Regions from separate parts of the Homo sapiens genome. Here region 1 is linked to region 2. Evidence: promoter capture Hi-C in 16 types of primary human blood cells and fetal thymus (Javierre and others, 2016). All regions are on one chromosome and are shown on one strand. The core of a region is centred on a gene start or on the middle of the fragment in contact, and the rest is flanking DNA. Distances in the headings are between cores, read along the strand shown. Region 1 overlaps AP4E1 (adaptor related protein complex 4 subunit epsilon 1). Region 2 holds the start of USP8 (ubiquitin specific peptidase 8).

The links. Contacts are between HindIII fragments. The CHiCAGO score rates a contact against its expected background, and 5 or more counts as called.
Region 1: a contact is called between a fragment that was not itself captured here and the fragment with the promoter of USP8 in region 2, in 1 of 17 cell types (non-activated CD4 T cells). The highest score is 5.8, in non-activated CD4 T cells.

Annotation. Positions count from the first base shown.
Region 1 is chr15:50,927,316-50,933,221 of GRCh38, reverse strand. AP4E1 (adaptor related protein complex 4 subunit epsilon 1) reads right to left here. Exons shown (of 21, transcript NM_007347.5): 6 at 4,054-4,213; 7 at 2,251-2,417. Among named protein-coding and RNA genes, the nearest start is that of AP4E1, 22 kb to the right of the region's middle. The HindIII fragment of the contact is 2,622 bases long and covers 2,623-5,244 here.
Region 2 is chr15:50,421,904-50,428,318 of GRCh38, reverse strand. It overlaps USP8 (ubiquitin specific peptidase 8), which reads right to left and starts at 3,914. Exons shown (of 20, transcript NM_005154.5): 1 at 3,805-3,914. RefSeq lists enhancers at 3,667-4,056, 4,095-5,091 and a silencer at 4,167-4,216. The HindIII fragment of the contact is 13,730 bases long and covers 3,366-6,415 here.

The DNA.
Region 1 (5,906 bases), core at 2,684-5,183, 500 kb before region 2:
AATGTTCCATAACATTATAAGAAAGTTCCACTCTATTAATAACTGAGCCTAATTACTGGTCACCTGAGTGCTGTGAAGGTAAGGACTAGCTTACTCATCTTTGTATATATGTATTATCCAAATTTATCCATGAAGGCAAGAAAAAGGAAGATAGTGAGTTAATGAATTTAATAAATTCACTAAATGCCTCCCAAGTTACTTCCTGATAACAATGGATGGCAGTAAGTCTTTTTTAGACCAATAAGATCTGATGCATTAATATAAAATTCATGATTTTAAAACATAAATTCCAGTAACTCCAACTAGAGCTCCACGTTAGGATAGGCTGGCATGATATAAAATAAAATATAATTAAGACAATCATTTCTAATGTGTGTACATGCTCCATCACCTTACGTTTTCACTGCAGGTTTCAATCAGTAGTTGAGATTCATAAACACAGAAAAAAGTAACACTATAATACCAACAGTGATGTAGCCCAATTAGTGCTAGTCAGGAGCTCACAGGCAAATGGATTCTGACCTTAAGTTGATTTCTAGAAGCAAAAGCCTGGAGAATGGTCCCTTTGTAAAGCTAGGCTAAAACATTAGAATACAAAGGTACCCTACTATATAAAAGGGAACAATATTCATAAAATCAGAACACTGATTAGCAAACATTTTCTTAAGACAGAAACATATCAGGAACTCTAGCCAAGGTCCTTGCTCTCAAGGGAACTAAAATCTCAAGGGGCTTGCTCTCAAGCAACTCGGAAATAGTTTTTAAAATAAAAATAATATGTAGGTGCACATGCAAATGCATACACACATGCACACACAGAGAATGAGAATGATAGAACAAATGAAAATAAATTGATGAATCTAGGTGCAGGATGTAAGGGAACTCCTTGTACTGTCCTTAGAACTTTGAAAGTGTCTAAGTTTGAAAAAGTAGGGCAAAATTGAGGCCGGGGCGGTGGCTCACGCCTGTCATCCCAGCACTTTAGGAGGCTGAGGCAGGGAGATCATCTGAGGTCAGGAGCTCGAGACCAGCCTGGCCAACATGGTGAAATCCATTTCTACTAAAAATACAAAAATTAGCCGGGCATGGTGGTGTGCGCCTGTAATCCCAGCTACTTGGGAAACTGAGGTGGGAAAATCTCTTGAATCCGGGAGGTGGAGGTTGCAGTGAGCTGAGATCGCGCCACTACACTCCAGCCTGGGCAACACAGCAAGACTTAGTCTCAAAAACAAAAAAAAAATGGCAAAATTGAAAGTATATATATATATAGTTGGAAAGATACACATGAGAAGTTTAAGTTATTGGCTAAAAGAATAATTCAGATAAATGAATTAAAAAGGTGAAGCACTCACACCCAACCAGAGCAAGGGTTGGCAAACTATAGCCCGCAGGCCTAATCTGGCCAAATGCCTGGTTTTGTATGGCTTCAAGCTAAGAAGAGATTTTACAGTTTGAAATAGTTGGAAAAAAAATTAAAAGAATAATACTTCATGATGTGCCGATTTGAGATTCAAGTTTTAATGTCCATAATGTTTATTTATGTTCTATCTGTGGCTGCTTTCATGCTGTAATAGCAGAGTCGAATAGATGCAAAAAACAACATATGGCCCACAAAGCCTAAAATATTTATTTATTTATTTATTATTATTATTTTTTGAGACAGAGTCTCGCTTTGTCACCCAGGCTGGAGTGCAGTGGCACAATCTCGGCTCACTGCAACCTACACCTCCTGGGTTCAAGTGATTCTCCTACCTCAGCCTCCCGAGTAGCTAGGATTACAGGCGCGCGCCACTGTGCCCAACTAATTTTTGTATTTTTAGTAGAGACGGGGTTTCACAATGTTGGTCAGGCTGGTCTCAAACTCCTGACCTTGTGATCCGCCACCTCAGCCTCCCAAGTGCTGGGATTACAGGCGTGAGCCACCATGCCCGGCCACCTAAAATATTTATTATCTGGCCCTTTGCAGAAAGTTTCCCAACCCCTGAACTAGAACAATTACGAAAGCATCACAGAGGAGATGGTGTTTCATGGGTACCTTTCATGATGGGTAAAATTAAGATAAGGAGAGAGCCAGGATTATCCCAGCAACCTGAAAGCATTTATGTGATTCTTACAATGGCTTCTTTTATCACTATTAAGCCAATTAAACATTGGAAGAATCTGGTTTATCATTAAACCTCTAGGTTACTAAAGTCTAAGCTTATCATCTGGTATGGGGGTCATTAAGCAAACTTACTGAAAATAGTTTACCTTTGATCATCTTTTCCTAGAAGTCCCAGTATTCTCAAGAGCTGAATTTGTAACCATGGTGCTGGCACACTGTGGTAATTGAATTCTACTGGGAGCTTTCCTCCAACTACTTGCTTCAAAATGGTTACAAAACTCCCAGTCAAGTCTTTATATCCAGATGAATTCTCCTACATCCCCCCGCAAAAAAAACTTTGTTAATAACGTCTTATTAAATAGAAATAGACCTAATTGAAATGTCATATAGAACCTGACTTAATACATACTTAAGTTTATGTTCACATTTAATGAAACAGTGCTCTAATATGTATAATATCTTCCATGATAAAATTCCTCTGGCTAACCAACCCAAAGCTGAATCATCCCAGAAAAGCTTCCATCACTCCCTACTTTTCCCCGTATACAGTTTAATCACATTTCAAAATTCTTATATCTTAGGTAGAATCCTTAATAGCCAATACCAGTAATTAAAACAAAAAGTGAAAAGAACTGGCATACTGCAAAAGGACAGTAATACCTCGGCTTTGGATGAAAATCAAGGCCTATTTGCAATCTCTGAACTCTGTTTCCAAAAGACTTCCCATGTAAATGAGTTAAATTCATTCTGGGGCCGGGCACAGTGGCTCACGCCAGTAATCCCAACACTTTGGGAGGATGAGGCGGGCGGATCACCTGAGGTTGGGAGTTCGAGACCAGCCTGACCAACATGGTGAAACCCTGGTTCTACTAAAAATACCAAATAAGCCGGGTGTGGTGGCACATGCCTGTAATCCCAGCTACTCGAGAGGCTGAGGCAGGAGAATCGCTTGAACCTGGGACGGGGAGGTTGTGGTGAGCTGAGATCATGCCATTGCACTCCAGCCTGGGCAACAAAAGCGAAACTCAATCTCAAAAAAAAAAAAGTCCCCAAAATCAGTGTGCCTGCCAATTAAAAATTAATTAGCCACACAGTATCTAAAAATATTTGTTTCTGAAGGAGTGTGCCTTGATTATGTATCTGAGTAATCTCTTGGACTGGGGAAATTATATCCACACTCCTTAAAAGGAACATTAGATTCTTTATTCTAATTTTTATTATGTATCAAGGGAAAATTTTTTGGAAGGGAAATAAAGCTCTTTCAAATTTTAGTAAATGTTAAGGAAAAAATAAAATTTAATATTGAACATTTATTTAAACTGTACTATTTTAGAACACGATACATAAAAAACAATATAACTTTAAATGAGTTCAATAGCATATTTTATTTTGTTATAGTAGGTGCCATGAAATCTGTTACAAATATGTATATTTGAACACAAATGGTTTCAGGCAATACACTAAGGATGAATTAGTATAAATCCACCATCGCCATTTAGAAAAGTGTTTTACCATAACATTCAACCCTCTTTCCTCATATGATACAGAATTAATACATGGAGTCAATACTACAATCTATAGCTTGCACAACCCCCGCTGGTTTTCCTCATTTCTATAAAATGTTATGCATCCCATGAAGTTATATAAAAGAGAATTACTGCTTGAAAAAACACAAATCTGCAAACTTAAGACACCTTCCACTGATACCATTTTTCCACACCTGTTTAGTAACATCAAAAAATTTTAGGCATTAAAAAAAAAAAAACTAATTCTGTAATGTGCCTACAACTCATGCTCTCAACAACTTGCAAAACTACTAATTCAAAGGTCAATAATAAAATTATAAAATGTTAACTAAGCATTTTACCAAAATATCTGTTTCTTTTTAATTCCATAATTGTATTTTTCTAATGGTAACTACTCAGTACTTGCTAAAATTTCCAACTTACCTTAATCATTCTAAGATATATATGCAAGGAGGCAGCCATGACCCCAACATCTCTGTCACAAAGTGCTTTCCGAAACTTAATATGAATATGTTGTACTTGATTAGGAGCAATGAGATGGAATTTGTATAATGCCAGAACAGCTTTTCTTCGTACAATCTCCCTGAAGACAAAAAATGAAATTTAAACAAGACAATCTGAATTCTCAAGTATTTACTTTGAAAGATTATAGGCCAGATGATTTCAAAATACTGGCTCATTACCTTAATTTACAAAGAAAGAGATAACTATACATTTGTGATTAATTTATTTATTCTAATATACCAAATTATAAAAAGTGGTTACCTCTAGGAAGTAAGGTCTCAAAACTTTAACTGCCCGTGTTATATATTTATCTAGTTAGGGAATTTTTTTTTGTAACAAGCATATATTACTTTTGAGATTAAAAAAAAAAAAACATGAAAAACAAATTTCTTAATTCTCTAATTCCATTTTTAAAAGACGTATCTCTAAAAATTGAAAAAAAAAGTCAACAGTAAGTTTAAGTAATAGGTAATTTCAGCTAGTAATATTAAAATCTTTTTATTAATATTAAAAATCTTTGGCCTGTAATCCCAGCACTTTGGGAGGCTGAGGTGGGTGGATCACTTGAGGCCAGGAGTTCAAAACCAGCCTGGCCAACATGGCGAAACCCTGTCTCTACTAAAAATACAAAAATTAGCCAGGTGTGGTGGTGCACACCTGTAGTTCCAGTTACTTGGGTGGCTGAGGCACAAGAATCGCTTGAACCTGGGAGGCAGAAGTTGCAGTGAGCCAAGGTTGTGCCACTGCACTCCAACCTGGTGACAGAGTAAGACTCAGTCTCAAATTAAAAAGGAAAGAAAAGAAAAAAAACTCGTTAACATTCTCACCCTAAAATAGTAGCTTTCTATGTTTCTTTTTTATATATATATATCACTGGATAGCAGACTCCAAATATTCTGGGGGACAGAGGGGAGGAATACAAGGACACACATGGAATAAAAAGATGTTATTCCTCTCTTTGCCCAGTTCATCTGTTTCAAAACCTCATGATAATAAAGAGAAAAGTATATACTAGTTTTGCACTTCATCTGTAGCAGATAACATCTAGCACACAGAAGCAAAAATAAAGAAATGCCATCCTATGTTCATGATGTAGTTTCCAAGGAAGCTTCTTCCTTGTTAGAAATTCTCTCTCTTGTCTATTTCTACATATCTGTTATTTGCAGACTATGCTGGCAGTGCTCAGAACAGCAGCAAACATCACAAAAGTGAAGTATTTACTTTTAGGGTTCCTTAACAGATATTTCTGTCGTAGAATCTCAAGACTGAGACTATTCAGTGCAATCCTTTGTGTTCCACTCAAGAACTCCTTTTATAAGATTCTTAATAAGTGGTCATACAAATTCCATTAATAAACAACTCTTATCTTCCTAGGCAAGCTATGCCATAACGGAAAACTCTTCACAAAAAAAAAAAGAAAAGAAAAGAAAGGCAGATTAATAACAGATTTACTGTTAGTATTAATACTGTGGTGAATGCAAGCCACGTCACAGTGTATTGCCATTGCGTGTTAACTGATATTAATTCTGGGGGAGAATAGGTAAATGAAGTGAGGAAAAAAAAAAAAAAAACTCTGAATAGGCCCAGGAGTTCACAGGCCTGGCCTCAAGTGGTGGTACTAACATAAGACGAGAGACCTAGATTCAGGCTCTGGGGTTGGTATGCTGAAATACAACCAGGGATTCAAAAGTTGAATTCAAGCCTTATTTCAAATATTCTTTGTGACATCTACTGGCTTACCTATAGCTCTGCCTCATATTCGTCAGCTCTTT
Region 2 (6,415 bases), core at 2,665-5,164:
ACAGTGAAACCCCATCTCTACTAAAACACAAAAAATTAGCTGGGCGTGGCGGCATATGCCTGTGATCCCAGCTACTTGGGAGGCTGAGGCAGGAGAATTGCTTGAACCCATCAGACGGAGGGTGCAGTGAGCCGAGATCATGCCACTGCATCCAGCCTAGGTGACAGAGCAAGACTCCCTCTCAAAAACAAACAAACAAAAAACTAAATTGTAATGTGTTAGTCAAAAGAGACAAGGCTTAGTTAACCCTTATTCACTATACATGAGAACTGTTTTACTTGAATTAGTATGGTATTAGTCAGGTGTGCTGGCGTGTGCCTGCAGTCCTAGCTACTTGGGAGGCTGAGGCAGGAGGATCACTTGAGCCCAGGAAGCAGAGGTTACAGTGAGCCAAGGTCATGCCACTGCACTCCAGCCTGGGTGACAGAGCAAGACCTTGTCTCAGTTTAAAAAAAAAAAGGGCCAGGTATGGTGGCTCACGGCTATAATCCCAGCACTTTGGGAGGCTGAGGCGGGCAGATCACCTGAGGTCAGGAGTTCAAGACCAGCCTGGCCAACATGGCAAAACCCCATCTCTACTAAAATACAAAAATTAGCCGGGCATGGTGGCAGGTGCCTATAGTCCCAGCTACTCGGGAGGCTGAAGCAGAATTGCTTAAACCCAGGAGGCGGACATTTCAGTGAGCCGAGAACTCACCACTGCACTCCAGCCTAGAAGACAGAGCAAGACTCCGTCTCAAAAAAAAAAAAAAAAAAAAAATTAGTACGGCTATAAATGTAGAATTCCAAATAAGTTTAATATAATATTTCATCATTCAGTACTAATAAATTTAATATTATGGAACTGTTGCAGGCCTTACTTTCCATTTATTAATCATATGACTTTGAACAAATTCCGTAAATCACTCCCAATACCACCACCACTCTTCAGTTTACTTTCATCTGCAAAATGAAATAGGAACTATTTGTCTGCTTCTATAGGGTGACCATAGGTATCAAGTGAAAAAATATACAAAAACATGCTTTGAAAACTGTAATATGCCATTACAACATAAAGTATTACGGTTAAAGAAATTGGAAATGGGTCAGGCGCGGTGGCTCACGCCTGTAATTCCAGCACTTTCGGAGGTTGAGGCAGGTGGATCACAGGTCAAGAGATCAAGATCATCCTGGCCAACATGGTGAAACCCCATCTCTACTAAAAATACAAAAATTAGCTGGGCTTGGTGACATGCTACTCGGGAGGCTGAGGCAGGAGAATGGCGTGAACCCAGGAGGCAGAGGTTGCAGTGAGCTGAGATCGTACACTGCACTCCAGGCTGACAACAGAGCAAGACTCCATCTCAAAAAAAAAAAAAGAAGAAGAAGAAAGAAAGAAACTGGAAATTGGAAGTGTACCTGATTCTTCATCTGCTATATAAATGCAAACAAGAGTCCAATACAACTTTGTCATCAAAATTATAGTAGGCAAAGCACGGCCACAAATTCTTTGACATTTTTCCTTTCAAAGGTGAGGGTTGTACGCTGGTCTTTGCTCTAACCAACAGAGTATGTTGGAAGTAATGTTGTGCGAATTTCTGGGCTCAGGCTTTTTGGGAGACTGGCAGCTTCTACTTCCTGACTCCTCAAACATGTATTCTCGGAACCTAGCCGCCATACTGTTCAAGTCACGTGAAGAGGCTATGTGTGGGCATTCCAGTTGACATTTCCAGCTGAACTCCTAGCCAACATCAAACGCCTTCACGTGAATTAGCCATTTTGGATGTCCAGACCAGCTGAGCTCTCGGTTGACTCCAAACTCAGCTGCTTATCTGAATACAAACGCATTAAACTCTAGGTGAAAACCACTTAGCTAAGTCCAGGCAGGCCAGAGAAACAGGAGAGATACTAAATTACAGTTTTAAGTCACTATGTTTTGGAGTGATTTGTTATGCAGCAATAGGTAACTGGGACAACAACAAGGTATTTTTTAAATGTTTCCTTAATTATATCTAATTTTATTAGCAACACATACCTGAAGACATTTTTTTCCTTTCACTTCCATAAATATGAGTGCATTTTCATGGAGAAAAGTTCGTAATATAGTGCTAGACTTATGAAAAAAATTTAATGTACTGGCTTTATTTTCCAACTGTCTTACCCAAAAGTCATTTTGATTATTTTCCATTATGTCCACGCTTTTTATTTTTTATTTTTTGAGACGGAGTTTTGCTCTTGTCACCCAGGCTGGAGTGCAATGACGCAATCTCGGCTCACTGCAACCTTCGCTTTCCAGGTTCAAGCGATTCTCCTGCCTCAGCCTCCAGAGTAGCTGGGACTACAGGCGTGCACCACCACGCCCAGCTAATTTTGTATTTTTAGTAGAGACCGGGTTTCGCCATGTTGGCCAGGCTGATCTCGAACTCCTGACCTCAGTGATCCGCCCACCTCCGCCTCCCAAAGTGCTAGGATTACAGATGTGAGCCACTGCGCCCAGCCACGTCCACATTAATAAACAAATGCCCATAAAGATTAAAGTCCAAGTAAATATATTAAAAAACGAAATGCTAAAAAAGGCACCTTTAAAACATTTTTGTTAGTTTTTCTTATACATTGTTTTCTTAAAAAAACAGATGTCTATGTGCAAAATTTCATTAATGAGAGGTGTATTTTTTTTTTAAACTACTACAGGGTCTTCACTAATATTAAAGATGCATCCAATGTGTCACAAGAAAAGGAATACATATTTCAAAGCAGCCATATCAACATGATAAAGACATAACACAACCGATATCACCTTCCAGATATGCTTAATAGTCCAGGGATATGCTGTAAGGAGAAACTACCCAAATCCATCATGAATGACATTCACCAACGAATCTTAAACAGAATCGGCTGAAATGCAAAAATCTGCTTACATAGCAAAGCCGCAGCAGAGCAAGCCTAAAACAGGAATACTTCCTTAACAAATACCACTTGGCATTTTTAATGGCTGCAGCAAGATATTTACAAAACTAACGATGCTTTGCAGATTCAGAAAAGGTAACATCCTTTAGATATAAATCCCTTTCATCTGAAACCCTCAGGTCTCTTAACAAATACTAAATTCCTTAGGCTCTGCAACACCTCCGTGTCAGGTAAATTTTTTGTTAGTGATTAAGTGACTTGTTCAAGGTCACAGAATGAACTGGAGGCAAGAAATAAACCCAGGAGGGTGGTCTGCAGCTTTATAATGCACATCACTGCTAGTAAGGATTCTGATAATTTCCAAGGTGGAGTGGCGGTGAAATTAACTTGTCCCACAACTCTAGGATGGAAGGCACTTTTTAGGGGAAAAAAAAAAAATCTTCTATTTGAGGAAGTCATAGTTTTAACTCTGACAAGCTTATAGGGTCTTTAAACTCAAACTTCACTAAAATCAAGTGTGACTGGGGAAGAAGAGAAACTGGGAAACAGTTTTAGGAGCTACAGTAAGGCCTGGGATTGTAGGCAGATTGCAGAAAAAAAAAAAAACCGGAAGCAAGAGGAAAGAGGTCAAAGTCGGGTATAAGTGTCCAAGAGAACGGAAGATTGGTCAAAGCCACCTTTTAAAACCAAAAAAACACACGAAACTCGCTTGGCAATCCTAGGTAGATGGCGTAAAAGACTCAAGGTTGGGCCTTTCCTCTCCACAAGCTGATTCTACCTTTAGGAGTTGTCCCACTCCTCTCCGCGGACAGAGCTTGTCTCCGGGGTAACCAGCAGCTGGTGGAAGGAAAGGCGTTCATCGTTCACAGCGGACGACTTCCCAGAGAACAGGTGCTAGGGCCCAAGACCCGCACTCACCGTGACGCCGGGCGCGCTTCACTAACGCCAGCCTTCTCGCCAAATGCCCATCTCCCAAGAACTCGAGGGAGAATTAGCCTTGGCTACCAGGACGGAAGCCAGCCCAGCTCACCCCCTTTTCCCGATTTGCATTGCGAGGCGACGCGTCGCGTCTCCAGACGTCACGGCAGGGGCGGGGCTTCGCGTGCGCTCCCTTGACTCCTCTCTCTTCCACCGCCCTCCCCTTTTCGGTGAGGGCCGCGGGGCGAGGGATGGTCGAGGGAGGGTCGAGGAGGACGTTATGGGTGGGCGGTGGCGGCAAGGGCGGGGTTTCTCTGAGTCGGGTCAACATAGTTGGCCGGTCCCTTACCCCCCGCACTGCACCCTGCATTTCCGGGTTGCAAGGCGGCGCCTGGGCCTTGTTGTGGAAGAAGCAAGGTTGCTCTTGCGTCCCTTTACTACGTTATTTTCCTCCTCAGATTGGAAATTAGAAAAAAGGGGATTTAACGCCCCTCTATTTCTGGCTAAACATTCTCTGAAGCCAAGCCTTTGGTCAAAGAAAAACAAGTATTATCCTAAAACATATTTTATGTACAATTTTTAACGTCACTTAAAAGGCCCCGGCGAGGCTGGGCACGGTGGCTCACGCCTGTAATCCCAGCGCTTTGGGAGGCCGAGGCGGGCAAATGATGAGGTCAGGAGTTCGAGACCAGCCTGGCCAACATGGTGAAACCCCCGTCTCTATTAAGAATACAAAAAATTAGCTTGGCGTGGTGGCGTGCGCCTGTAATCCTAGCTACTCCAGTGGCTGAGGCAGGAGAATTGCTTAAACCCGGGGAGCGAAGGTTGCAATGAGCCGAGATCGCGCTACTGCACTCCAGCCTGGGCAGCAGAGCAAGACTCCGTCTGGTTGGGCGAAGGCCCCGTGTAATAGAAACGAAATGAGACGTCTGAACTTTCTCGCGAGCTGATCTTTGTACTCTCTTAGAGAAAGGTGATTGGATGCTCCGGTTGCCTGTAAACATAAAATTGACTTGGGTGGAGCTTTAGGCAGTAGTCACTAAGTCCTCAGGAACATTCCAGGTGTCTCAGGGATGGGAAATCTGGCTAGCGAGGTCTAGTAAATGCTTTAAGTGAAAGTGTGTGCCACATGGTACAGTGTACACTGCTCGGGTGATGGGTGCACCAAAATCTCAGAAATGACCACTAAAGAACTTTTCCATGCAACCTGTTCCTCCAAAACTACTGAAATAAAAATTTTTAAAAATAAAAAAGGATAAAATAAAGAAAGTGTGTTCAATGAATTTGTGATGAAGGCCAGGTTGCAGTGGCCCAGGCCTGTAATCCCAGCACTTTGGGAGGCTGAGGCAGGAGGATCCCTTGATCCCAAGAGACAGAGACCAGCTTGAGCAACAAAGGGAGACCCTCATCTCTACAAAACAAAAATTTAAAAATTAGACCGGGAGCGGTAGCTCACGCCTGTAATCCCAGCACTTTGGGAGGCCAAGGTGGGCAGATCACTTGAGGTCAGGAGTTTGAGACCAGCCTGGCCAAAATGGCAAAACCTGGTCTCTACTAAAAATACAAACATTAGCTGGGCATGGTGGCGCGTGCCTGTAATCCCAGCTACTGAGGAGGCTGAGTCAGTGAATCGCTTGAACCTGGAAGGTGGAGGTTGCAGTGAGCCGAGATCGTGCCACTGCACTCCAGCCTGGGCAACAGAGCGAGACTCCTTCTCCAAAGAAAAAATCTAAGTTACAAATAGGATTTCCATTTTCCATAGAATCTAAAACTCCCCAAATTGCTGTGAACTACAGCAGTATTTTCTCCATTTGGTAAGAGACATAAGGACAGCTTAACTACCCTTCTTTATCCAAACTAAGTCAAAAACAGAACCCAGGTTTCCTGATTCCCACTCCCAAGTAAAACTAAATAGGTTTTATGTATGTTGCAGCTGTTGCACCCTTTTCCTCTTTGAAATAAAACTTTTCTATTTCATTGGGGAAAGAAAACATGACTGAAAGTCCAAAATGTGGCCAGGCGCGGTGGTTCATGCCTGTAATCCCAGCACTTTGGGAGGCCAAGGCGGACGGATCACGAGGTCAGGAGATCGAGACCATCCTGGCTAACACGGTGAAACCCCATCTCTGCTAAAAATACAAAAAATTAGCCAGGCGTGGTGGAGGGCGCCTGTAGTCCCAGCTACTCAGGAGGCTGAGGCAGGAGAATGGCGTGAACCCGAGAGGTGGAGCTTGCAGTGAGCCGAGATGGTGCCACTGCACTCCAGCCTGGGCGACAGAGCAAGACTCCATCTCGAAAAAAAAAAGAAAGTCCAAAGTGTTAGCTTAGAGCTCAAAACACTAGCTGCTGTTTCAAGGTCCAGGACATTAAATCCAGATGAGGGCCTTCACCTTTGACACCTGCCCTCGAGTCCTTCAGACATGTTGAGAGAGACTGAGACAGGGGTCTTGCAGGGTCAGGCAGGAAGGAGAAGCACAGCAATATACATATATAATATACATAAAACTGATTAGATTTGTTTAAGAGTGGTGGGGATTAGGGCCATGTGGAGAACTCATGGCCTGTCTACATTGTTGCCATGTGGTAATGGGGCAGAGTATTGCCAATTTTC